Linked DNA regions of Homo sapiens: all the other regions are linked to region 1. The links are contacts of gene promoters, found by promoter capture Hi-C in blood cells and fetal thymus (Javierre and others, 2016). All regions are on one chromosome and are shown on one strand. The core of a region is centred on a gene start or on the middle of the fragment in contact, and the rest is flanking DNA. Distances in the headings are between cores, read along the strand shown.

Region 1 (4,490 bases), core at 1,258-3,757:
GATCCTCATAAATAAACCAAGCAATCTGCTGATTATGATTAGTCTTCCTACTTAGACTTGCCTACGGAGAGAGTACACATTTCATACAGCAATTTACTAAGAGTTAATCCAACTAAACTCACTCATTTCTGAGTTTCCCAGTCTAAAGAGGTGGTGACCAACAGATGATCCTCCAAGGCAAAATACTACCTTGTGGGACCCAGGTAGCTGTCAGTTATCCTATCATACTCTCTGCTCTTTAATTACAACAGCCTGCCATCTGGGGAGATGGTAAGAAAACTAAAATCTCAAGCTGAAATAGTATTTCTGATCACCTACCTCTCCCACAATCAGCTTCCATCCTTTTGCTTGTATATTTCACAAGGAAAAGGCAAAAACACTCTTTCAAGCCACAAAATACACAGACAAGAAGCCAGGAATGAGTCAAGACCAAAGTAGATGGAAAAGGATACTGTTTCATTACTTCTTTATACTTTACAGTATCACGAATATCTGAGGAGAAAAAAAAGAATTAACTGGAATGTAATACATACACATTCCCTACCACCAGGAAAGTAAAACTGGCCTTCTAGCCTTCTCCTGTCAGCATTCTCTTCTACCACCTCCACTTTCACACTGGTTTCCTTCCTTACAAAGAATAAATGCCAAGTAAATCATGAAGAATGTTAGGGCTAGGAGCTCTAAAGTTGTGGCAAAGAGTTTTGTCTCCACAAAGTGCAAAGTTTCATGCAACTTAAACATGCCTAGAAAAAGGGAGGCAAAAATCAAGGGGGAAAAAATGCTTCTTACTAATTGCCTATTACTGACAAAGGCAACACAATGGCAATGCAGACATGATTTTTTAAAAGGAGTTAGGCTGGGCACAGTGGCTCACACCTATAATCCCAGCACTTTGGGAGGCCAAGGCAGGAGGATTACTTGAGCCCAGGAGTTCAAGACCAGCCTGGGCAACATAGAGAGGCCTTGTCTCTCCAAACAAAACAAAACTAGCCCAGCATAGCGGCAGGAGGCTGAGGTGGGAGGATCACTTGAGCCTGGGATGTTGAGGCTGCAGTGACCTGTGAATCACGCCACTGCACTCTGGCCTGGGTGACAGAGACTCTGTCTAAAAAAAAAAAAAAAAAAAAAAAAACCTAAGCTGTTTAGGAATGCAAGCAAATCCAAAGGAAATGAAAGTAGATAGTTTAGAAAACATGAAAAAAGAAGGCACTGAAGACTGGCAGGCTGGAGGCTTTACAGAGTCTCACTCTATTGACCAGGCTGGAGTGCAGTGGCACGATCTTGGCTCACTGCAACCTCTGCCACCCGGGTTCAAGCAACTCTCCTGCCTCAGCCTCCCGAGTAGCTGGAATTACAGGTGCCTGCCACCGTGCCTGGCTAATTTTTTGTATTTTTAGTAGAGATGGAGTTTCACCATCTTGGCCAGGCTGGTCTTGAACTCCTGACCTCGTGATCTACCTGCCTCGGCCTCCCAAAGTGCTGAGATTACAGCCGTGAGCCACCACGCCTGGCCTTTTCCATTCTCTTTAAAGCACTGCACACAAGTTATGTTACTGGTTTACTCACCAATATTGGCAGGAAAGGGAACTTCATGTACTGCTGGATCCAGGTTGATCACATACGGTGGAGTGCCTTGGGCATGCAGGTGTCCTGTGAGCCTCTGCAGAGATATGGGGAGAGGGTTGGAAGGAGACAAAGAGGGGACAAGAGAGAACTTCCATTCCTTTAACACCCATGCCTTAAGAATATTGCACTTAGATTTTCTTCTACCTGAAATATCCACCATGTCCACCTCCAAGATACAACTCTCAGTTCAAATGCTACCTTTCTTCATCACCCATCTAACAAAGCTTCCCCTACTCGTAGTCACTTGTTTACTTGTTTTGATTCTTCGTATGTGGGTTTTCTCTATCTCCTCCATTAAATATTTGGCCCCACGAATGAATCTTGTCAACCTCATTTTCGCTATATCCCCAGTGAATGGAACATGACAGGCGTGCAAGAAATATTTGGCAAATCTTCACCAAAACCTGTGTGCTAGCACTGTATTAATCTTTAAAGTTACTTGTAACTTGCCTCCGAGAAACGCAATTTTATCAGCAAGACAATTCCTGTACAACGTGGTAAGCTGGACCGAGTATGCCCTGAAGGTGCGCAGAAGAGAGCCTTAATTAACCTGGCTAGGGCCCGAGGAGGCTTTGCCGGGGAAGGAACTAAAGTTGATGGGAAGCCCCCGAAAGCCATGCGCCGGTACCCTCCAAATCCTCTTCCCTCCCTTTCTTCCTGGCCTTCCGCCTGCCGGAGGCAACCTTTTGCGCTCCCCTACTACACCCATGCTGTGTACGTCACCTGTACAAAAGTGGTTTTCCCGGATCCCGCCATTCCCAACACCAACAGACACACTGGGTGCCGCGGACCCCCAGAAGCCTGGAGCTCAGCGGCAGCTGCGGACGCCGCCATCTTCCTCCTGGCCCCACCCACCCGACCATAGAGACACCGCATGGGTAGAGAAACTTCCGCAATGTTCTGGGCTGCGAACGAAAACCACCACAGCGTCAGAAAGGAGCGGGTGAGGGGCGCGGCGGTTGCCAGGGCATCTTCTTAGCGTCGGGCAGGGCTGATGAGTCAACTAGTGACAGTGGCGAGGAAGTGGGGGCGCTGAGCAAGCGAGAGGAAGGCTGAAGGGAGCTAGGAAAAGGGCGCTGATCTCTGCAGCCTGGGAGGGCTTTTGTCTCCCGGAGGAAGGCCAGAAGAGATGGGGTCCCGAGGGCAGGGCTCACACAGCAAGAAAACGAGGAGCATGCCTGTCATTTTGAGCCCACAGAGAACGGGGAGCGGAGCCACTGGAGGACCGGCTGCTCGGGCTTATTCGGTAGCCGAGGCGGTTAAACAGTTCAGGGCTGGACCAGCCGGGACTGGAGCAGGGTGCAGTCTCCAGGGTTGCTGGGCAGCACCGAGACCCTTTGAGCACCGAACGAATAAACTACGGGAGCTTTCCACACTTGCACATTGTTCCCGCGAGTTGCAGACGCAGGTTCCTGATGCTAGCGCTCATTCCTTGGCAGTCACCCTCAGTGAACTACACAGTTGCCGTGACCTTCAGGATGAATGCTTGGATTCCAGGTGCAAGTAGGTACTGGAGGGGAGCTTCCTCCCCTCCAGTCACTGAAGGTCCCTCAGAAACTCAGGAAAGATGATGAAAGAGCCTAGAAAATTATTTCTACTCCTGACCACCCAGTCTGTTTCTGTGACCCTTTGTAGCTGCAAACAGTGTTCAGTAAGTCATAAGATCTGGCTTTAATACCCAGGCTCTGCCACTTGCTAGTGGTGTGAGTCATGGGCAAGTCACTTAAACTCTCTGAACCTGTTTTCTCCTTTTTTAAAACTGAGGTAATACCTCCCAGGGTTGTAGTGAATGCACGTTGTAAATGACGAGCTACATTCCTCATCCTTTACCACTAGCTGGATTCCCCACACCTTGCATAATGTCTGGAACATTCTGGTGCTCAGAAATATTCTCTTGTATGAATGAAGGACAGTTGTGCACTTACTTCCTAAAGTTTCATTAACTGACAGAGGAATGTCTCGTTTGTTCTTTCAGGTTTGCTGAGGGCCCCAGAAGGCTCCTTCCACCGTATCATAGTCTAATAAATAATTTTGTCAAGCCAGAGAAGCTAACAAAGGTAGAGACAAGGCTTAAAGAAAAGATAGTGGCGGAAATGACGGATCTGAACAAGCATATAAAACAAGCTCAAACCCAGCGGAAACAGCTACTGGAGGAATCCAGGGAGCTACACCGAGAAAAGTTACTTGTCCAGGCTGAAAACAGATTCTTTCTGGAATACCTGACTAACAAAACTGAAGAGTACACAGAGCAACCTGAGAAGGTATGGAACAGCTATTTACAAAAAAGTGGAGAGATTGAACGAAGAAGACAAGAATCAGCCTCCAGATATGCAGAACAAATTTCAGTGCTTAAAACAGCGCTCTTGCAAAAGGAAAATATCCAATCCAGTTTGAAGCGGAAGTTGCAGGCAATGAGGGACATTGCTATATTAAAGGAAAAGCAGGAGAAAGAAATACAGACATTACAGGAGGAGACAAAGAAAGTCCAAGCTGAGACAGCTTCAAAGACACGGGAAGTACAGGCCCAGCTCCTCCAGGAGAAAAGATTACTGGAGAAACAACTGAGCGAGCCAGACAGGAGGCTACTGGGAAAGAGAAAAAGAAGAGAGCTTAATATGAAGGCCCAGGCCTTGAAGTTGGCAGCAAAGCGGTTTATTTTTGAATACTCCTGTGGCATCAACAGAGAGAACCAGCAGTTCAAGAAGGAATTACTGCAGCTAATTGAGCAAGCCCAGAAACTAACGGCTACTCAAAGCCACTTAGAAAACAGGAAGCAGCAGCTGCAGCAGGAACAGTGGTATCTGGAGTCCTTAATCCAGGCGAGGCAGAGACTGCAAGGAAGTCATAATCAGTGCCTAAATAGA
Region 2 (4,490 bases), core at 1,304-3,803, 230 kb after region 1:
GTTCTATTGTCTGATTCCTTAGCAGTTGTTACTACTGTTTCCCTAACCTCTAATCTTCTATTGGGTTATTAGTCTTAGAATTGAATTTTGAGAGGTAAGGGCTTGAATTTGAACATAGAAATTTATACAGGTCTGATCAGTAGTTCTTGACATTGTATTATCTGGAAACAAATCTTTAGAACTGAGCTTAAGATGTTTAATGACATTTTGTAGACAGAGTATGATTTCAGTGTAGTTGTTTTTGTTTCTTTCTAGATCTAGTTCAGAGATGAAGTATATCAACTTTTTTTTCCTTTTTGACCCAATGCTAGCAGAAAAACAACACCTTTTAATCATATTTAGTATTTGAAAATGTGTATACAGGTTCCTTTTTATTTTATTTATTTCTTACAGGTTCCTTTTTAATCAGCTTTATTGAGATAGAGTTCATATACTGTATGGTTCATACCACATATGGTTCATATACCATACAGTATATGAACTCACTTTAAGAGTATAATTCAGTGGGTTTAAGGGTATAATTCATTCATTTTAAGGGTATAATTCAGTGGCTTTTAGTATATTTTCTTTTTTTTCTTCTTTTTTTCTTTTTTCGAGACAGGGTCTTGCTCTGTTACCCAGGCTGGAGTGCAGTGACGCAGCCTCAGCTCACTGCAACCTCCACCTCCCAGGTTCAAGCGAATTCTCTTGCCTCAGCATCCTGAGTAGCTGGAACTACAGGCTCACGCCACCACACCCAGCTAATTTTTATATTTTCAGTAGAAACAGGGTTTCACCATGTTGCCCAGGCTGGTCTCGAACTCCTGGCCTCAAGTGATCTGCCTGCCTCAGCCTCCCAAAGTGCTGGGATTACAGGCATGAGCCACCGTGCCTGCCTGTTTTGTAGTGTATTCAAACAGAGTTGTACAACTGTCACCACAATCAGTTTTAGAACCCCAAAAAGAAACCCTGTACTCTTTACCAGTCACTCCCTATCTTCCGTCCACTAACCCCTGGCATCCACTAATTTACATGACCTCTATGAATTTGCCTATTCTGAACATTTTATAAATGGAATTCTAAATACACTACCTTTTATATCTGGATGCTTTTACTAAGCATGTGTATTTTTGAAATTGACTTTAAAGCTTGTTGGCCCCTGGAAGAGTAAATTACTCTCCACCCCAAGTATTCCCTCTACCCCTCAGCTTTGCCTGTAAGTTTCTTTTTAAAAAAATCACACATACATTGTTGTAGTAGATTTAAGAATAAGTATTTTGCTGACCCAAGGTTCTTTTGCTTCTTTCTAGATCAGTGCCTTGCAGGTTTTATTTTACAGAGCTTAATAGAATCAGAAATCTCTTTAAAACTCCAGTCTCATATCCAGTTATCACTCACCATCTCTGTGTTTGCAGCAATAGCCAGGCCTGGCCCAGAGGGACTTGATCTCCACTTTTGGTTTTTAGACTTTTCTGTGGCTTTTACCACCTGCTGTGTATCCTTGACCTCATACTGCTGGACTCCTTTGGATGGATACCAGCAGGATGGTTCAGGCTCCAGTGGGCACTTTTTAAAATTCTCTCCTTCTGTTCAGATAGACAGAGCTCAGGCAGATCACCAAGTCTGTTGCCTGTGTAACCAGGAAAGAGATGCTAGTTTTCTTTTAGGCACTCCCATTTGTTTCTGTTGGAACCTTCCTCACTTAGTTGATGGAAGGGAAGCAAAAGACCCAGAACTCCATCTCAAATTAATGACTTAACAATTCTTGAATTTTCTCTTATCTCCTAGTTAACTCTTTTTCTTATCTCCAGGAGGTCAGTTTTAATTATTGTTGTTTATTCATTTATTTTCATGGAGACAGGGTCTTACTGTGTTGTCCAGGCTGGCCTTGAACCCCTGGCCTCAAGGAATCTTTTCACCTCAGCCTCCCAAAGTGCTGGAATTACAGGCATGAGTCACCACACCCAGCCTGATATTTTTCAGTTGATGTATCATAGTTGTGCCTAAGCATAATTTTTTAATTTTAATTTTTTATTTTTGGGGACAGGGTCTCCCTCTGTCGCCCAGGCTGGAGTGCAGTGATGCGATCTCAGCTCACTGCAACCTCCACCTTCTGGGTTAAAGCGATTCTCCTGCCTCAGCCTCCCGAGTAGCTGGGACTACAGGTACCCACCATCACACCCGGCTAAATTTTTTGTGTGTATTTTAGTAGAGACGAGATTTCGCTGTGTTGCCCAGGGCGGTCTCGAACTCCTGAGCTCAGGCAATCCGCCTGCCTCGGCCTCCCAAAGTGCTGGGATTACAGGCATGAACCACCACGCCCGGCCAAGCGTAATATTTTTAAGGGTCATCAATGTTGTGTCATGAATCAATCAGTGTTTCGTTCTTTTTTATGGTTGAATAATATTCCATGGTATGGATTTGTCACATTTTGTTTATCCATTCATTAGTTGATAGACATTTTGGATTTCCACTTTTTTTTTTTTTTTTTGCTATTATAAATAGTGATACTATGTACAAATTTTTGTGTGGAAATATGTCCTCATATCTCTTGGTTATATACCAAAGAGTGGAAGTGCTGGGTCATATGGTAACTACGTGTTTAACATTTTGAGAAACTGCTAAACTGTTTTCCAAAGTTGCTGTACCGTCGTACATTCCTGCCAGCAATATATGAGGATGCCAGTTCCTTCACATGTTCACTACACTTATCCACCTTTTTTATAATAACTAATGGTGGGTGTGAGATGGTATCTCATTGTAGTTTTGATTTGTATTTCTCTGATGGCTAAATGGCTAATGATGTTTGAACTTTTTGTTTGAGACAGAATCTCACTCTGTCCAGATTCAAGCGATTCTCCTGCCTCAGCCTCCCTAGCAGCTGGGATTACAGGCACATGCCACCACACCCAGCTAATTTTTTGTATTTCTAGTAGAGACAGGGCATTACCATGTTGTTCAGGCTGGTGTCGAACTCCTGACCTCAAAGGATCCGCCTCCCTGGGCCTCCCAAAGTGCTGGATTACAGGCTAGAGCCACCATGCCAGGCCTTATGTTTGAACATCTTTTATGTGCTTATTGGACATTTGTGTATCTTCTTTGGAGAAATGTCTGTTCAAAGTCTTTGTCCATTTTTAATTGGATTGTCTTTTTGTCTTTTGATGTGTAAGAGTTCTTTATGTGTTTTGGATACAAGTTTGTTAGATATATGATTTGCAAATCTTTTCTCCAATTTTTGTGGACTTTTGCTTTCTTTTTTTGTTTTGTTTTTGTTGTTGTTGTTGTTGTTGTTGTTTTGGTCGGGGGACAGTCTTGCTCTGACCACCCAGGCTGGAATGGAGTGGCGCGATCTTGGTTCACTGCAACCTCTGCCTCCTGAGTTCAAGCTATCCTGCTTCAGCCTCCCGAGTAGCTGGGACCCAGGTGTGTGCCACCACTCCCAGCTAATTTTTTATTTTTAGTAGAGACCGGGTTTCACCATGTTGGCCAGGCTGGTCTTGAACTACTGACCTCAGGTGATCTGCCTGCCTCAGCCTCCCAAAGTGCTGGGATTACAGTCATGAGCCACTACACCCTGATTCTTTTTGCTGGCTTTCTTTCTTTTTTTTTCTTTTTTTTTTTGAGACGGAGTCTCGCTCTGTTGCCAGGCTGGAGTGCAGTGGCATGATCTCGGCTCACTGCAACCTCTGCCTCCCGGGTTCAAGCCATTCTCCTGCCTCAGCCTCCCGAGTAGCTAGGACTATAGGCACATGCCACCATGCGCAGCTAATTTTTGTATTTTTAGTAGAGACGGGGTTTCACCATGTTGGCCAGGATAGTCTCGATCTCTTGACCTCGTGATCCGTCCGCCTGGGCCTCCCAAAGTGCTAGGATTACAGACGTGAGCCACCACACTCAGCCTCTTTTTGCTTTCTTGATGGTGTCTTTTGAAACAAAAGTTTTTACTTTTGATAAAGTCCAATTTGTCTATTTTGTTTGTTTGTTTTTGTTAAGAAGCTTTGCCTAACCCAAAGTCACGAGAATTTTCTCTTAGGTTTTCTTCTAAGAGTTTTATAGTTTTAGCTGTTTCTGTGATCCATTTTGAGTGAATTTTTGTGAATGGTATGAGGGAGTGATCCAACTTCATTCTTTTGTGTGTGGATATCAAGTTGTCCCAGCACTATTTGTTTAAACCACTGTTCTTTTCCCCCATTGAATTATCTTGGCATCATTGTCAGAGATAAATTGACCGTAAATGTGAGGGTTTTATTTCTGAACTCTCAAGTCCATTTCATTGGTCTACATGTCCCTATGCCAGTAATACACTATCTTGGTTACTGTAGCTTTTTAGTACGTTTTGAAATGTTTTTAAAATTTGTTTTTCATCTAAATTTTAGGATTAATTTGTCAATTTCTGCACAAAAGGCACCTGGGTTTCTATAGGGGTTATGCAGAATCTGTAGATCAACTGGGGGAGTATTACAGGCATGAGCCACCGTGCCTGGCTGACTGAGTTTTTCATAGATGTACTC
Region 3 (4,490 bases), core at 880-3,379, 190 kb after region 1:
AATCTGACCATCATCAATGAAGAATAGTCTCACTCCAGAGAGAGGCCCCAAAAGCCAAATTCTCTCCTGAAGTCTCCTTTCTGATGACCCTCAACAGGCACAAACATATTCCCTTTCCTGTCCTGAACTACAGACCACACATGGATGCCACCTACCTCCCCTTTCTTAGGCCTACTGCTTCTCATCTAATGTCCCTAAATCAGGAGCAACAAAAGCACCAGACTAAATTAACAGATACACAGGGGCTTCAGGCTGGTCTAGAAGCAATGAAGTTTAAGGAAAAATTTTCACTTGTACTGCGTTCACCTTCCCTAAATCCCAGGTACCTCTAATCCCTGCTCACATGAAAATATTTGGTTTTAGTTTTTTCATCCACCCTGCAAATAACATAAAAACACAGGCAGCCCTTCCTAATCTGGGACAATTGGAGACCTCAGGAACTTGGATAAATAAGGATAAGAAGTATTAACATACAGCTCAGGAGGTAGCCTCCTTCTTACCCACCTTTGCTGAGTGAAACTCAAAACAGCTCAGAATTGAGCTAATACCCTTGAATCTGTTCCACTTTTAATCCACCAAAACATTTTAGACTCCTGTTCTACCCCCTTATTCCTCAACACTGTCTGCCACAGAGCTGAACGAGGAACCAGGACCAGGCCCAATTTGGACTCACTCAGATCATAAACAATGACTACAAGTCACAGAGAATCTGGGAGCACAGTATGATCTGGGAACTAGCCTGATGATGAGGGAGAACATGAATCCAGGAGGTAAGTGGCCAGCCAGGCAGAATCCACAGGAAACAAGCAGGTTATGAAGGGGCAAGCAGGCGGAGGGCTGGCAGGGCAGAAGCTAAGCAGGCATAATTAGGCAGGGAAGATAGGGGAAGAGGGTTTGCTCCCACGACTGCATGCACTGGGCAGCCGCCAAGGGAGCAGAGGGAGCACAAACAGAGCCCCAAGTGGGGCAGAGGGAGCTCTCACCATTAGCAAAAATCCTATGAAAGACTGTTGGGAACAGAGCAGCCCGTAAGCGGGAGGGAGGAAAACAGAGAAAAGTTGTGAGCGATGGAGCAGCCAAGCCCCAGACAAATGGACACACAAATACCACACAGACACAGCACACAGAAATGTTGTACACTGCATACAATACACAGCAAACGAAAGCACTCACAGCAGGAACAGCCTGGAACCTCCTCTGGCAGGGTCTGGCCCCAGGACTCAAATCAAACCTCAAACCTATCTCTTGCCCTTTCCCAGCCTCTTATCAGTATCTCTGTATTAACCCCAATTTTCCCTTCAAAAAGGTGTAAGATTATATATCCTACCCCCTCTCCACTAATTAACTGGCCTCTCCTATTAATTACTCCTAGCAAGGTCCTTTCTCTTCTCACCAGCCCACACCTCAGAATTTTGCTCTGTTATCCCCCATTCCTTTCATCTTACCCCCATGGTTCCCAAATTCCCGAGGCTCCCCTGCCCAGAACCTCTCCCTCCCCTCACCAGAGCCAATCTTGATGAGTCCGTTGTGCTGGATGAAGATGGTGTCACAGGTCAGGTTCCCATGGATGATGGGGGGGTCACAGGAGTGCAGGTAGCTGTGGGGGCACTGGGCTGTTAGAGGGGCCACTGGGAAATTAAGGGCAGGGGGAACCCAAGGGTTAAGAGGAGCAAGGGCCAGGTCTCCTGCTGGTCACCATAAAGATAATCCCCACACTCTGAATCTCCATTATGCCTGATGATTTAAATAGCTGGATAAGCACTAGGAGAAAGAGGTAGGAGATAAGTGTCGTGGTTAGGGCATTAGGACGCACCCTTTAAAAGACCCGTAGGGGCCCTAATCTTGACAGTATATGATTCAAAGAAAGTGGGGAGAGGCAGAATAGAACAGAAGAGTAGTGCCCTGAAATCTGTTTGGAGTAACTACATCAGGAAATATGGGTAAGAAACTAACCAGGTACTACTTACCTTAGGGCAGAGAGGATTTGTGTGCACCAACGCTTCCATGCCTGGAACAAAGTTGGATCCAAGGGTCAGCAGTAATTCCCTCTCTTAACTCTCTCCCACTAGCTCCTTCCGTCCCTTCCTGATCAGCTTCATTATTAACAGAGTCCTTTTTAAAACCACCCCCAAAAACCAGCCTCAAACTTTGTCTGCTCTCCTTCTATACCTTTTCATTCATCGTCTTGTGGTTCTTTTTGGTCTTCTTCAGAAATTGCTTCAGACTCCCAGATGACATGTATTCTGTGATAAAAATGACCTGGGGAGGCAAAGCACTTACTAAAAGGCCTTATAGTAGAAATGATCCCTTCCCTTGTTAACATATTTTAAATTTGAAGGTTTGTTAAAATTTCTCTCCTTTTGTTCTTAGCTTTACTTACTTAGACTAAATAGGGCAATGAAAACAAGCAATGAAAGTTATGGGAAGAAAGAAGCAAAAGTTCACTCATTTTCTGCCCAATCTATAGCCACACAAAAGGCATAGGTGACAACTGAAGCCCTACTCTTATCGCCATTGCAGCTGATTCCAGTTCTGTTTCAAAACTACCTTGTTTTAATCTCTGAGTGTAAAAGGAACAATAATAAATGTAGCTAGTCTCTTTGCAATAAGTTCAGGAAATATGGGGAAAAAATTCTTACCCTGGCCTTGTTCTCTTTAATGTCAGCCCAATATTTGTGAAACTTAACAATGTTAAGATGCTCCAATTGAATCAGATTATCAAACACAGCACGAACCTTTTCCTGAAAGCAAGGGAGACAGTGGAATAACAGAGTCACAAATCACTGTAATAATCCTGAGAAGCCATTCCCTATCCCTCCCCAGAAACGATCTAACCCCAACATACTCTCCTCACGGGCAGCTTCCCAACACCAATTCCTCTCTAACATCAGTGTTCCAACATTCCCCAGGCTTCACCTTTTCAGCATCACCTACCTCCTGCAGCTTGTAGTTCTTGCGTTCAGAGAACTGTACCTCATTCCACACAACCTCTACACCTTCCTCTGTATCCATGGCCAGGTATGCACTGTCAATACCTGGTACATTCCGTTGATTCACCTGAGAAGAAATTCATATGAAAGAGAATTAAACTTATCTCACAAATCCTCCATTTTAACACTCCATATGATCATCTCCTCCTAGCCCCCAACCTATTGAAGTTTGGTTGGCCTCTTTTAAGACTTTGCTCTTCCAGTTCTCACCTTTCCAGAATTCACTCACCCAAGAGTAACTGTACCATAACCTTACCTCTTCTCGCCTCTTCTGCCAGCGCCCACAGGGCGACTCTTCCAAAATCTCAGACTCATCTTCACTTTCTTCTTCTTCCTCTGGGGAAGCAGCTGAGGTTGTGGAGGTCACAGGAGGTGACACTGATGTCAGGCCAGGAGCTGAAGATGAGGATTCTACCTTTGGGTCTGAGCCACTGCTAAGTACTGTCTGGGACTCCCCCTCCGACATGCTGGAAGGAACACTCAGGCCTGCACTGGTTGGGGCAAATACAGAGGGAAAAGGCAGAGAAAGTCAGGATACATCTGTAAAGATTTAGTAATCCAGGCTGGACGTGGTGGCTCATGCCTGTAATCCCAGCACTTTGGGAGGCTGAGGTGGGCAGATCACCTGAGGTCAGGAGTTCAAGACCAGCCTGATCAACATGGTGAAACCCCATCTCTACTAAAAATACAAAATTAGCTGGGTGTGGTGACGCGTGCCTGTAGTCCTAGCTACTCAGGAGACTAAGGCAGGAGAATTTTTTTGAACCAGGGAGGTGGAGGTTGCAGTGAGCTGAGATCACGCCACTGCACTCCAGCCTGGGTGACAGAGCAAGACCCCATCTCAAAAAAAAATTTAGTAATCCAGCTGAGCACAGTGGCTCACCTCTGTAATCCCAGCACTTTGAGAAGCCGAGGCAAGAGGTTCATTTGAGGCCAGGTGTTTGAGACCAGCCTGGGCAACAAAGTGAGACCCCATCTTTACAAAAAAATTTAAAAATTAGCAGGGCAAGGTGGTACACAGCTATAGTCCCAGCTACCCGAGAGGCTGATGGGAGAATCACTTGATTGCCCAGGAGTTTGAGGCTGCAGTGAGCTATGATCATGCCATTGGCTAGGCAACAGAGGGAGACCCTGTCTCAACAAAAAACAAACAAACAAAAAAAAAGATTTAATAATCCTAATACTTATCTGCAAATTCAAAAGAAAATAAAACAGGCCAGGCATTTGAGACCAGCCTGGACAACATAAAAAGACCCCAGTCTCTACACAAAACTTTTAAAAATTAAAAATAGAAAACACACACCACCTTTGTTTCCTTTAAATCCAAAATCAGAATCAGTCCTAAATACTGAAACATTAACTATTCTCCTAACTCTAGTCTAGAAAAGGGGAGCTATCTTAGTTGAAGATGACCCTCCCAGGAATGACAAACACAAGATTTATGGCAGTCTAATCCCACTTAGAGTAAGGTTCAAATCACCAGCAAAATCAGGTGCTCCA
Region 4 (3,157 bases), core at 125-2,624, 180 kb after region 1:
ATTAGACCAATAAATGGCTCAATTACTATCATATCTGAGTAAAGACTAAAGTGCATGATTTAAAGTAGAGTTCAGAGAACAGTGAGATCTCTGTGGGCTAGAGGGGTCAGGAAGGCTCTGTGAAGAAGGAGGGAAGACTTGGACAGGAGCTGGAAGGGCAACTCCAGGCACAGGAACTGGCCAGACAGGGAACATGAAAAAAGCATGGGCTCCACCTCCCCCACCCAACATTTCCTGAAAAGAAGCTTCCAGCAAATTAAGCCAGGCCAGTATGTGTCACAAATAATAAGACATACTGTATTGGAGAAACCAACAGGATATATACAGTCATATGCCATATAACAACGTTTTGGTCAACAGTAGACCACATGGGTGGGCATGGTGGCTCACGCCTATAATTCTAGCACTTTGGGAAGCTGAGGTGGGTGGATCCCTTGAGGTGATCCCACGCCTGGCCTTAAATAGGTTTCAATACACAAATGCTTACCATTGTGTTATGGTTGCCTATAGGTAGTCAGTACAGAAATGTGCTGTACAGGTTTGTGGCCTAGGAGCAATAAGCTCTACGCAACCTCTACCTAGGTGTATAGTAGACTATACCATCTAGGTTTGTGCTATGATGCTTACATAATGATGAAATCCCCTAAGGACACATTTCTCAGAACATACTGATCATTAGACAATGCATGACTGTAGGTATATGTGTGTACATGTATATAAAGAGATTTATTAAAAGGAATTGGCTCATGCAGTTATGGAGATAGACAAGGCCCAAGATCTGCAGGTGAGCTGGCAAACTGAAAACCCAGGAGAACTGATGGTGTAGTTCTTGTTTGAAGGCCAGCAAGCTTGAGACCCAAGAAGAGCTGATGTTTCAGTTCAAATCTGAAGGCAGGAAAAAGCCAGTGTCCCAGTTTAAAGGCAGTCAAACAGGAAGAATTCTCTCTAACTTGGGAAGGAGCCAGCCTTTATGTTCTGTTCATGCCTTGAAATGATTGGATGAGGTCTATCCACAGTAGAGAGGGCAATTTGCTTTACTCAGTCTACCAATTTAAATGTTAACCTCATCCAAAAACACTTATAGAAACACCCAGAATAATGTTTGACCAAATACCCGGATACCCTGTAGCCCAAATTGATACATAAAGTTAACAATAACATATATATATATATATATACACACACACATACATATATATAATTATATTTTAATATATTTAAAATTGGGATGCAGGTATAGTTTAAATGACGCACCTTAGATACAGTGAAATGTGAGTGGGGGTCATGAGGGGGGTGAGATTGGCCCTCTAAATGACATATTCGTATGGTGATGCCCCTGCAAAATTTCCCTTAGGTTTTGAGGTTTTTTTGTTTGTTTGTTTATTTTGTTTGTTTGTTTTTTGAGACGGAGTCTTGCTCTGTCGCCCAGGCTGGAGTGCAGTGGTGCAATCTCGGCTCACTGCAAGCTCCGCCTCCTGGGTTTAGGCCATTCTCCTGCCACAGCCTCCTGAGTAGCTGGGACTACAGGTGCCCACCATCATGCCGGGCTAATTTTTTTGTATTTTTTTAGTAGAGACGGGGTTTCACCGTGTTAGCCAGGATGGTCTCCATCTCCTGACCTCATGATCCACAAGCCTTGGCCTCCCAAAGTGCTGGGATTACAGGCGTGAGCCACCGTGCCTGGCCTTTTGAGGTCTTAAAACTCAATAACCCCTAGAAGTTAGAGGGAGAGAAGTAGAAAGAGAGGGGCTGATGATTGGTTTTGAGGTTCTAGCAGATTTTAATCAGCAGTATTGAATAAGCATCTGATATATGTAACTTGGGAGCATGGCATGACTGTACCTTTTTCAGATTAGTCAGAAAATGGCTTCCTGATGCAGACAGGGCAGATTAAGCTTTGAAGGGCTTGGCAGTAAGAAAGGGAGGCAAGAACAGGTGAGGGAAAGACCAGAGGGGATTAGCATAAACTACAGTGAAATTGGATTGTGTGGAAATTGAAATCTGGTAAGGATGTCAGCATCATAATGGAAACAGAGTGATCTCATTGAACACTTGGGTTTGTAGAATTTCTGAGTTTTAAGTGTTGAAAGGTTATCATCAAGACCATCTATACCAGCACTGGCACTAGAAATATAATGCAGGCCACAAATGTAAGCCATACATGTCATTTAAATTTTCTAGTAGCCACATTTAAAAAGAGTAAAAAAAAAAAAAAACAGGTAAAAATAATTGTAATATATTTTATTTAACACAGTATATCTAAAATACACCATTTCATCTGGGCGCAGTGGTACATGCCTGTAATCCCAGAACTTTGGGAGGCCACGGTGGGCAGATCACTTGAGGATCAGGAGTTTGAGACCAGCCTGGCCAACATGGTGAAACCCCATCTCTACTAAAAATACAAAAATTAGCTGGGCATGGTGGTGGGTGCCTGTAATCCCAGCTACTCAGGAGGCCAAGACAAGAGAATTGCTTGAACCTGGGAGGGAGAGGTTGCAGTGAGCTGATATTGTGCCACTGCACTCCAGCCTGGGCGACATAGCAAGACTCTGTCTTAAAAAAATTAAATAAAATACTACCATTTCAACATGTACTCACACACATTATTTAGATATTTTCCATTCTTTTTTTATACTAAATCTTCAAAATCCAGTGTGTGTGAATGAAGAAACAAGTTCATAAAAGCCCAACACAAATAGTTACAGAATGCCCTGGACTCCTTATTTTAGGAGTCCTTTCTCTGTACTCTGCTACGAAGATTTTACTTATGACAAAGACCTTGAAAATGATTTTGTCAAAGGCGGAAGTTTCAAATGCAGTGACCTCAGGCAGCGCAGGAAGTATCTGAAAGAGTTAATGAACTGAGAGGAAAGATAGGTCCACTGATGGCTAATCAAAGGATCTAATGGACCATGAGCCAGGTTTTGCCCAGGAGGGTGCAAGGTTGAAGGGGAGAGTAAGAGAAAAAGTTGGCATCTGGAGGAGAAAAATGTATGAAATGGATGAGGCTGAGGACTCAGCGGTATTTGTCTCTCCTACCCATTTCCATCTTCTGTTCAACCACTCAGGCAGCTGAACTCTCCATCAAGTTTCTGCCTCCCCAACGTAATATGGAAGTCGTTCTGGCTGTAGGACCCCAGCTGATTGGAATTGG
Region 5 (4,490 bases), core at 874-3,373, 160 kb after region 1:
CTTCCCAAAGTGCTGAGATTACAGGCATGAGCCACCATGCCCTGCCGATTTTACTTTTTAATTAAAGGAAGATTGTTTTTTAAATTGGTCTTCACAATTATGGACACCAGTGGACATTTGGTCTTTAGCTTAAGCATATATAACAAAGTGGGGCCCATTGTTCATTAATAATGGATATCACTAAAACTTATAAATAGGCTTTGATCAAGAGACCCCCTGAAACCATCCCAGCCAACCCTAATTGGTCTGCTCTAAATGTGATAGTTTCTGATAATGTCTAGAAGATTCAAACCAAACTAAAATATTCATCCTCTGCAGTGACCAGCCTAACTTTAGTCAGAGGTTTGTCTGTTGCCTTCCCCACCATCCACCCTTGCAGTGCTCTTACACAGTAGGCATTCAAATATACGGGTGACTTCTTAGAGCATATGACCATCAAGGTCATTGATTCATCAGCCTTGTCTCACTGCTGTATTGTATCAGGCTTATCTTTAATGTGCTCAGTGCTGCCTTCGAGGGGATTCTGTGAGTAGGAGAAGCCACTTGCTCAATAGTTCTAGTCTGCTCTGAGGTAACTCCATAAGCCCCAGAGAGTGATGACATTTCTGTGGGTCTGGACCTTTTGAGTTAACAACATAGTTAAACAAAACCTCTACAATTCTAAAAGAGACCTAGCTTCCTAGGCATCCTAGCAAAATTATGTGTGTTGGCCATACTATGTATATGTGTGGAATCTCTCTTCTTAACCCTGTCTCCTTTATTCTATAGTGGATCTGATTGGTGGCTACAACATTGGCACCGTCAGCCATGAGAGCCGTGTGGATTGGCTGGAACTTAATGAGACTGGACACAAGCTCCTCTTCAGGGACCGGAAACTTCGTGTGAGAAGAGCTACTAAGGCCTTAGGCATTGGCTGGCCCACAGAGGGTGTGAGACAAGCTGCCACCAGGGACTGAGGGAGGCAGGATGGAGCACATTGTCTTTGCTGTGTCATCAACATGGCAGAAGGCACAGAAGAATCAACATTCTCTGTAGCTGATACCAAAACTGATAGCAAAACCCATCCTTTATTACCTCTTTTTTTTTTTTTTTGGAGACAGTGTCTCACTCTGTCACCCAGGCTGGAGTGCAGTGGTACAATCTGGGCTCACTGCAACTTCTGCCTCCCGGGTTCAAGTGATTCTCCTGCCTCAGCCTCCCCAGTAGCTGGGACTACAGGCACGTGCCACCACACCTAGATAATTTTTGTATTTTTAGTAGAGATGGGTTTTCACCATGTTGGCCAGGCTGGTCTCGAACTCCTGACCTCCTGGCCTCAGGTGATCTGCCTGCCTCTGCCTCTCAAAGTGCTGGGATTACAGGTGTTGAGCCATGCGCCCAGCAATCCTGTATGACCTCAGAGGTGATTGTATTATGGCAACAAAGTCAAGAAGGGAGTTTGGAAGTTGGTGTCTCTTACTATTCACAGTCTGTGCCCTCAGGAAACTTCCTTAACCCTGCATTCCTCCTCCTCATGCCTAGCTGACCTTCACCTAGACCTGCTGTCCAGTGCTTTTCAGCCACACTTATCTGATAGCATGAACTGGCTGGAGGACAGCCTCTTCGTCCCTCATTGATTCTCATCCCAATATGGTAGCACCAGAGTCTTCAACCTCAGATCAAAGAGACAACCTGATGACTTTTCATTTCAGTGAAAGCCACATCACAAATTTCTGGATAATTTAATTTTTCTAGTGGCCTGCCATTTGTAATCCAAGCTGGTAACTCTGGCCCAGAGTTATTTCAAGAAGGAAAGTCTGACCTTCACCTAACTTAAAATTCCTGGGATGTAGATCTTTGTTCTATGGGTCATCTCTTACTTGACCAGAGTTAGGATATACCAGCTCAGCAGAAAGCAGGTCAGTAAGCTTTGAAATGCAGCATGAACCTGAGTGGTGGGTTAGCTCACCACATCTCACCATTAGGAAAATGGTCAAAAGCAGGAGACAACCCCACATCCCCTTGTAATTGTGTTACCTGCCTTTTCTTTCTTCAGTTGCATCTGTATGATATTGAAAGCTGCTCTAAGACAATGATCCTCAACTTCTGCTCCTATATGCAGTGGGTCCCAGGAAGTGACGTGCTGGTAGCTCAGAACCGAAACAGTCTGTGTGTATGGTACAACATTGAGGCACCTGAGAGAGTCACCATGTTCACTATTAGGGTATGTTGGACACTAGGGGCCCTCAGATGTGGTATTGAGCTGATTAATTAGAGCCATGAGGAGACTCTGAAGGCTACTTGGTTTTCTGTGTCCACCACCCTTAATCTCTGTGATAGAATTGGCAAATAAAGCTTAGACTTATGGACCAGCCCCCAGAACCATCCTTTTTCAGATTCCTGACATTATATTAGACCCTTGGAGTATGGGTTCATTACAGTGGCCCCGGGAAGTCACCAGGTCATAATATGGAGATCCCTGTAGGCTGGAAGATCCCTGATAGGAGAGGCAGTTCTAATGTCATCTCCTTCTATGCTGATTCTCCGTTATAAGCCATTCAAAGTGCCTTTTTTTCTCAAATTACAGATCAGCTCTTCTCTCCTGTCCTACCACAACATCATACATACCCAGTAGTCTTCCAAAATCTGGGAGGAGCCAGAGAAAACGAGAGGCAGGCTCCTGTGCTAGGCTAGGAGTGTGTGTGTATGGGTAGAGCGCTTGATGCTTTCTTTTTGTCCTTTTCCATACCTTTTTAAAATCTCCTTTTTACCTCATTTTAAACTGATTAGGGTCTAAAATTTATTTGTTTAGTTCTTTCTTTCTTTTTCTTTCTCTTTCTCTCCTTCTCTCTTTTACTCTTTCTTCCTCTCTTTTTTTTTTCTCTCTCTCTTTCTCTCTCTTCTTTCTGAGACAGGGTCTCCCACTATCTCCCAGGCTGGAGTGCAGTGATACAGTCATAGCTCATTGCAGCTCAGCCTCCTGGGCTCAGCCAATCCTCCTGCCTCAGCCCCCTGTACAGCTAGGACTACAGGTGCATGCCACCATGTCCAGCTAATTTTGTGTTTAATTTCTTTAAGCACCTTTTTTTTTTCTCCACATTTTGGGTTTGAAAGTTATATGTCCTGTTTCTGTAGAGGTTACCTTGAAAGTTTAACATGTAGTTAAATGAACAAAGTCTAAAGTTAATCAGCATCTAACCACTCCCCTGCAAACAATACAAGACTTTAACTTTCATCTCCTCCCCTTTGTCATTGTTGTCCAGTATTTTAGTTCTAATCTTATTTTGTCTCCAAAGTTAGGCATGATTATTTTATTTTATTTGAGACAGAGTCTCTCTGTCACCCAGGCTGGAGTGCAGTGGCGTCATCTCGGCTCACTGCAACCTCTGTCTCCTGGATTCAAGAGAGTCTCCTGCCTCAGCATCCCAAGTAGCTGGGATTACAGGTACCTGTCACCATGCCCAGCTAATTTTTGTATTTTTAGTAGAGATGAGGTTTCGCCATGTTGGCCAGACTGATCTCGAATTCCTGACCTTAGGTGATCCACCCGCCTTGGCCTCCCAAAGTGCTGGGATTACAGGCATGAGCCACCACGCCCTGCCTGATTATTTTATAAGACAGGATTCATTTAGATTTACCATCAAGGTACCAGTTCCTTTGTTTACCTTTTCTTGCAATGCTAATCTTCCCTCTGGAATGACTTTTCTTCTTCCTGAAGAATATTATTTAGAAGTTTTTTGTTTCTGTTTTTTGTTTTTTGAGACAGGGTCTCACTCTGTTGCCCAGGCTGGCGTACAGTGGCACAATCTTGGCTCATTGCAACCTCCACCTCCCAGGTTCAAGTGATTCTCCCACCTCAGCGTCCTGAGAAGCTGGGATTACAGGCATGTGCCACCATGCCTGGCTAATTTTTGTATTTTTAGTAGAGACGGGTTTCACCATGTTGGCCAGGCTAGTCTCGAACTCTTGACCTCAAGTGATCCGCCTCCGTCAGGCTCCCAAAGTGCTGGGATTACAGACATGAGCCACTGCGCCCAGCCTTATTTAGAAATTTCTTTAGTGAAAGATGATAAATTTTCAGTTTTTCATTATCTGAACATGTTTTTATCTAGCCTTTGTTCTGAAAAGATGCTTGGACTCAGTACCCAGTTCTAGATTGACAGTTAATTTTTCTTAATTTGTAAATGTTGTTTCATTGATTGACTTCCATTGTTGTTCGGAAAAATTTATCATCAGCCATTTCTGTACAGGTGATCTGTCTTTTCTCTTTGGTTTCTCTTTTTTTTTTTCTTTTTTTTTTTTTGAGACGGAGTGTCGCTCTGTTGCCCAGGCTGGAGTGCAGTGGCGTGATCTCAGCTCACTGCAACCTCTGCCTCCTGGGTTCATGCCATTCTCCTGCCTCAGCCTCCCAAGTAGCTAGGACTACAGGCGCCTGCCACCATGCCCGGCTAATTTTTTGTATTTTTAATAGAGATGGGGTTTCACCGTGTTAGCCAGGATGGTCTTGATCT
Region 6 (4,490 bases), core at 31-2,530, 130 kb after region 1:
TGCAATGTAGTGTAGCAAAAAGAACATTGGATTAGAGAAACCAGTTTGACTCCCATGTCTTGCTCCACTACTTGTTCAAATCCTTACTTCTCCCAGAAAGAACTGAAAGCAGCTTTGTCATCTAAATAAAAGTAAATAATAAAAGCAGCATTATCCAGCAATTATTAGCTCAGTGTATTTGAGCAAGCTACAGTGATTATCCTTTCTAAATCTTTGTTTTTTCATCTGAGGAAAACAAACAGAAGTCATATCAACTTCACAGGCTTTTGTGAGGGTAATAGGTGTGAAAGTAGATTGTCAATTATAAAGTATTAAGCAGAGAAGTTATCATTATTATTTATTAATAAGATGAAAATAAGGATCCAAAAGGGAGGATCTCCAAAAGGGAGAAAGGAGAATGAGATCTATCAAAGTGAGAAATAGAGACAGTAAAAAGAGAAAGAGGGAAACAGAAAAGTTTAGGCAGGGAACAGAAGGAAGGTTAGTACCTTCAGCACTTCCTGAACTTTCCCAGCCACCTGTACCATGGTGGTCAGAATGGATTCGCTGTAGAGTCTCTGTAGGGAATATGCAGGAATGAGAAGCCAAGAAAAGGAGGACGATGAATGGGGGAGGGGGTCTCAGGGTTTCCGATATTAGGAGCCATGGTGAGGGAGAGCAGAGGTGGGGTTGGGGTTGGCATGTTTATTTCCAGGGTCCAGGTCTTGGGTCTTGGTTACCTGGTATGTGGACAGGGCTTGCCCCTCCTCCTGGAAGATCTCAGCATCACATTGCCCTAGCAGTCGAACAATGTTCTCAGCATCTGCTTTGTCTAGATCCTGGGTCAGTGGGTTTGACTTCTCCGTGATTGGCACAGCTGCCTCGTACCCAGACAACTAGAAGGAAGAGGGGACAAGGATGGAGCAGGAAGCCAAAGCCTCATTCATGCCTGCTGAGCTGGAGGTGGGAGTGGCAGCAGGCACAGAGTTTGGACTTACACACACGCACACACATACCACACCAGAAACTCAGCCTGCACTTGGTGCTCTGGGCATATTAGGGAAAGAACATCAGGAAGGAAGAAGAGGTGAGCAGAAACCAGCGGGGAGGGAAGACTGGATGAAAAATAATTCTAGGAATCAGCACAGAAAGCCAACATGAAGAAGGGGTCTCACCTCCCACTTGCCAGGCTCCGGGGTCTCAATGACATGTTGAAACCGTTTTGTGCCTGGCATGGTCCCACGCTGTGGATACACTGTTCCTCCTGCCTCTTCAGCCACACAAACCCCTCTGGTCACAATGACTCTGCTTCCAGTTGGCAGGGCCTTATCTGAGCCCCAGTGATGATTAACCCAAGCACCCTGGGCTCTCAGAGCACCACCCTTTCCTGGTCACTAGGCCCCCAGCCCTCTGGTAACCCCAGGGAAACTCCTGGGCTTCCTCTTTGCAAGCACCCTGACTCGCCAGCCTCTGCTTTGGCCCCTGAAGAGGAAGACCTGAGGCTCGGGACTCTTGCCCTACCGGGACAATGCCCTCTTCTACAGAGGACCTGGAGCCTGGGAGTGCAGGACAACACCCACGGCAGTGAGAATCCCTGGGCAAGTGTCCTCCGAGGCCAGAGATCAGGGTCACCAAGTCAGCACAAGTCAGAGGACCTGGCCCATGGCTTGATCACATGCTCAGCACACACAGTCAGTCCCACTGGTCCCATTTTATCCTCTCCTCTCAGAAAGGAAGGCAGTAGAAGCTTCTGAGCCCCAAGTGTGCACACACTGTACTGGATATTACAGCGGGAAAAATCCCACAGAAACAGAAATACTGCATTGAGAATTAGAAACCAAAGAATCTGCCCTAAATACAATGTTAGCCAACATTTATTTACACTGAACAACACACTTTTCACAGACAGTATCTCATTGGATACACCAACACTAAGATGTTGGTCAATATTGACACCCTCATTTTTCAGATGATGAAACAGGCTCAGAGTAGTTTAGTTGGTTGCTTAAGATCACACAGCTGGACAAATTGGGACTCACACCCAGGTTCTCAATTCAGATTTCAAGCTCAACCAAAGCATGATATAATGTAAGGGCTTACATGTTATTGAACAAAGAAGTAACTAACAGATTGGTGCAAATTAATCTCCATCATCCAGTCACATAGTGTTGTGAGATTTATAAAGATCTTTCCCGTCTCATTTGAGCCTCACAACAACCCTGTGAGATTTCACACGCTTTGCTTTACAGGTGGGAAACCTGAAGCACAGATAAACCAGTTTCTCCAAAACCACACCGTAAGTGGTAGAGCTTTAGAAAAACAAAAAAAGAAAAGAAAGGAATAATAATTTTTTTAAAAAAGCCATAGGTCTTTGCGCTTTGATTCTCCCGAGAAGCCCAACACTCTTAACAATCACTGTATCTCCAGGTTTTAATATAATGCCAGACACATAGGAGATGCTCAATAAATATTTGGTGAATAAATGAAAGAATGAATGAGAAAGCGAACGGAATTAAATGAGATTATGAATGGAAAAGAGACTTAAAAGCTGACGCAGTCTACAAGTAAGGGATTGTTAAAGCAATTATTATCTCCCTCACTCTCTCCCCTCTCCTGTTAGCCCCTCGGGCACTGGAGGTGGAATTCCTCTTCCCAACTTGGCTCTTCCACGCGGGGAGGAAGGGGATCTCCCAGGTGCCGGAGACCCTAGCACCCGCGTCTCACCCCCCACGCCCCCGCCGACTCGTCCGCTTCAGCTGGGAGAGAGAAGGGATAAGGGATGGGGGCTCCGGAGGCGCCATTGGGAGGGTCGTGGGAGGAGCCCCGAGAGGACGGGAGTGAGGGGGCGGGAGGGGAATGACGGCGGCGAGAACCCCGGCTGGGCGGGGCGGGCCCGCGCGTCCCGGCCGGGCTGCGGCGGAGCGAGCGGGGCCAGCGCTGCAGAAGGCGGCGGCTGGCTCTCCGGGACGGTCACATCCCGCTGCAGGGGCGGGCGGAGGCCGCCGCACTGCCTCCCGCACCGGGGACCCAGGCCAGCGTCCGGGCAACGCCCCCTGCTCCCGGACAGACTCCGTGGCCCGCTCGAGCCCTGGGGGCTCCGCAGACCCGCGCCCGCTCCGCCCGCAGCTCGGCCCCGCGCTGCCCGCGTCGCCGGGCCCGCGCCGGGATGGGGTAGGGGCAGCGCCACCGAGTCGGGCGATGGGCCGCCCTCTGGGCACCGAGCAGCCCCCCGAGGCCTGACCAACCGCGAGGACCGGCGGAGGTGGGTGTGGGCAGGGCGGACCGCACTCTGGGGCCGCCCGGGCAATGCGGGGGCGGGAGGGCGTAGAGAAAATAGGGCTGTTGTGAGCTGTGGGGAGCCCAGGAGAGCTGCTGCCCCCCGACCTCCGTGCGTTCTGGGCAGTCCTTGACCCCCCACAACTCCTGCCATCTCCAGGAGCCCCGCCTGGATGTCAAGCGGATGCCAAGCGGATGCCACAGTTCCCCCCCCAGCGGACTCCGTGGGGACATGGCTTCGCTGGTGCCCCTTTCCCCATATCTAAGCCCCACGGTCCTCCTGCTGGTCAGCTGTGACCTGGGCTTCGTGCGAGCAGGTAAGTAAAGGGGAACGGGGCTGAGGGTCAACCACAGCTAGTCAATGGGTGAAACCTGTTAAACACCCTGGCTCCCGCAGACCGGCCTCCCTCTCCTGTGAATGTGACGGTCACTCACCTCAGAGCCAACTCGGCCACTGTGTCCTGGGACGTCCCAGAAGGCAACATCGTCATTGGCTACTCCATTTCCCAGCAAGTATGAATCACCCTTCTGCTCCCCCAACCTGTGTCCTTGGATTTCGGCACATTTCTTCACTTAAGTGGGGGGGATCTGGAAGCTGGCGTATCCTGGCTCAGGCTGCCCTTTTCACGCTACTCCCCCGGAGTGCTTGGATGTTGAAGAGTCTCTGGTTGAGCCTTGTGGCCTGGCACTGGGGTGAGGCTGTCCTCCTCTCCCCTCATCTCCCTGCAGCGGCAGAATGGCCCCGGGCAGCGTGTGATTCGGGAGGTGAACACCACCACCCGGGCCTGTGCCCTCTGGGGCCTGGCTGAAGACAGTGACTACACAGTGCAGGTCAGGAGCATCGGCCTTCGGGGAGAGAGTCCCCCAGGGCCCCGGGTGCACTTCCGAACTCTCAAGGGTTCTGACCGGCTACCTTCAAACAGTTCAAGCCCAGGTGAGGATCTGTGCTATTGGATTCTCTGGCTGCTTACCTGGCTTGCAGCCTCTTACTTACTTCCCCAAGACAAGCAACAGACTAGCTGAGTTGAATAGGATGATTTAATTCATTGTACTGCCAGGAAAGGAAAGAAAAGCAGGTGGGAAGGGGATTGGGTATAGACAGGCTGGTATTGAGTTGTTTGGGGGAAGGCCTTTTAAGCTTCCTGTTACCCAACTTCACATCAGCTGCAGCCTGCATGAGTGAGTAATTAACCTGCAGCCATCCCGCTTTTTGGTCGCTAACCACCTGTCCACCA

What was found. Contacts are between HindIII fragments. The CHiCAGO score rates a contact against its expected background, and 5 or more counts as called.
Region 2: a contact is called between a fragment that was not itself captured here and the fragment with the promoter of CCDC121 in region 1, in 3 of 17 cell types (megakaryocytes, endothelial precursors and erythroblasts). The highest score is 10.9, in megakaryocytes.
Region 3: a fragment that was not itself captured here is called in contact with the fragment with the promoter of CCDC121 in region 1 in 2 of 17 cell types (endothelial precursors and megakaryocytes); the score reaches 5.4 in endothelial precursors.
Region 4: a fragment that was not itself captured here is called in contact with the fragment with the promoter of CCDC121 in region 1 in 1 of 17 cell types (endothelial precursors); the score reaches 9.2 in endothelial precursors.
Region 5: a fragment that was not itself captured here is called in contact with the fragment with the promoter of CCDC121 in region 1 in 1 of 17 cell types (endothelial precursors); the score reaches 10.0 in endothelial precursors.
Region 6: a contact is called between the fragment with the promoter of GCKR here and the fragment with the promoter of CCDC121 in region 1, in 2 of 17 cell types (endothelial precursors and megakaryocytes). The highest score is 14.4, in endothelial precursors.

The regions. Positions count from the first base shown.
Region 1 is chr2:27,627,029-27,631,518 of GRCh38, reverse strand. It overlaps CCDC121 (coiled-coil domain containing 121), which reads left to right and starts at 2,507. Exons shown (of 2, transcript NM_024584.5): 1 at 2,507-2,569; 2 at 3,602-4,490. The coding sequence starts at 3,720. It overlaps GPN1 (GPN-loop GTPase 1), which reads right to left and starts at 2,469. Exons shown (of 14, transcript NM_007266.4): 1 at 2,350-2,469; 2 at 1,567-1,660; 3 at 453-492. The coding sequence starts at 2,460. RefSeq lists enhancers at 2,225-2,324, 2,365-2,674, 2,735-2,794 and a silencer at 3,243-3,537. The HindIII fragment of the contact is 4,758 bases long and covers 1,853-4,490 here.
Region 2 is chr2:27,397,931-27,402,420 of GRCh38, reverse strand. All of the region lies in intron 1 of PPM1G (protein phosphatase, Mg2+/Mn2+ dependent 1G), which reads left to right. Among named protein-coding and RNA genes, the nearest start is that of PPM1G, 9.4 kb to the left of the region's middle. The HindIII fragment of the contact is 2,848 bases long and covers 1,130-3,977 here.
Region 3 is chr2:27,432,240-27,436,729 of GRCh38, reverse strand. NRBP1 (nuclear receptor binding protein 1) reads right to left here. Exons shown (of 18, transcript NM_013392.4): 2 at 3,247-3,476; 3 at 2,935-3,057; 4 at 2,640-2,741; 5 at 2,170-2,259; 6 at 1,968-2,008; 7 at 1,503-1,597. The coding sequence starts at 3,456. Among named protein-coding and RNA genes, the nearest start is that of NRBP1, 5.9 kb to the right of the region's middle. The HindIII fragment of the contact is 6,412 bases long and covers 1-4,490 here.
Region 4 is chr2:27,450,011-27,453,167 of GRCh38, reverse strand. It overlaps IFT172 (intraflagellar transport 172), which reads left to right. Exons shown (of 48, transcript NM_015662.3): 36 at 3,072-3,157. Among named protein-coding and RNA genes, the nearest start is that of KRTCAP3, 9.2 kb to the right of the region's middle. The HindIII fragment of the contact is 1,047 bases long and covers 851-1,897 here.
Region 5 is chr2:27,468,641-27,473,130 of GRCh38, reverse strand. It overlaps IFT172 (intraflagellar transport 172), which reads left to right. Exons shown (of 48, transcript NM_015662.3): 15 at 769-881; 16 at 2,036-2,203. Among named protein-coding and RNA genes, the nearest start is that of IFT172, 19 kb to the left of the region's middle. The HindIII fragment of the contact is 427 bases long and covers 1,910-2,336 here.
Region 6 is chr2:27,493,629-27,498,118 of GRCh38, reverse strand. It overlaps GCKR (glucokinase regulator), which reads right to left and starts at 1,280. Exons shown (of 19, transcript NM_001486.4): 1 at 1,155-1,280; 2 at 720-875; 3 at 489-557. The coding sequence starts at 1,214. FNDC4 (fibronectin type III domain containing 4) reads left to right here and starts at 2,919. Exons shown (of 7, transcript NM_022823.3): 1 at 2,919-3,241; 2 at 3,416-3,572; 3 at 3,653-3,768; 4 at 3,985-4,189. The coding sequence starts at 3,440. The HindIII fragment of the contact is 4,981 bases long and covers 1-1,728 here.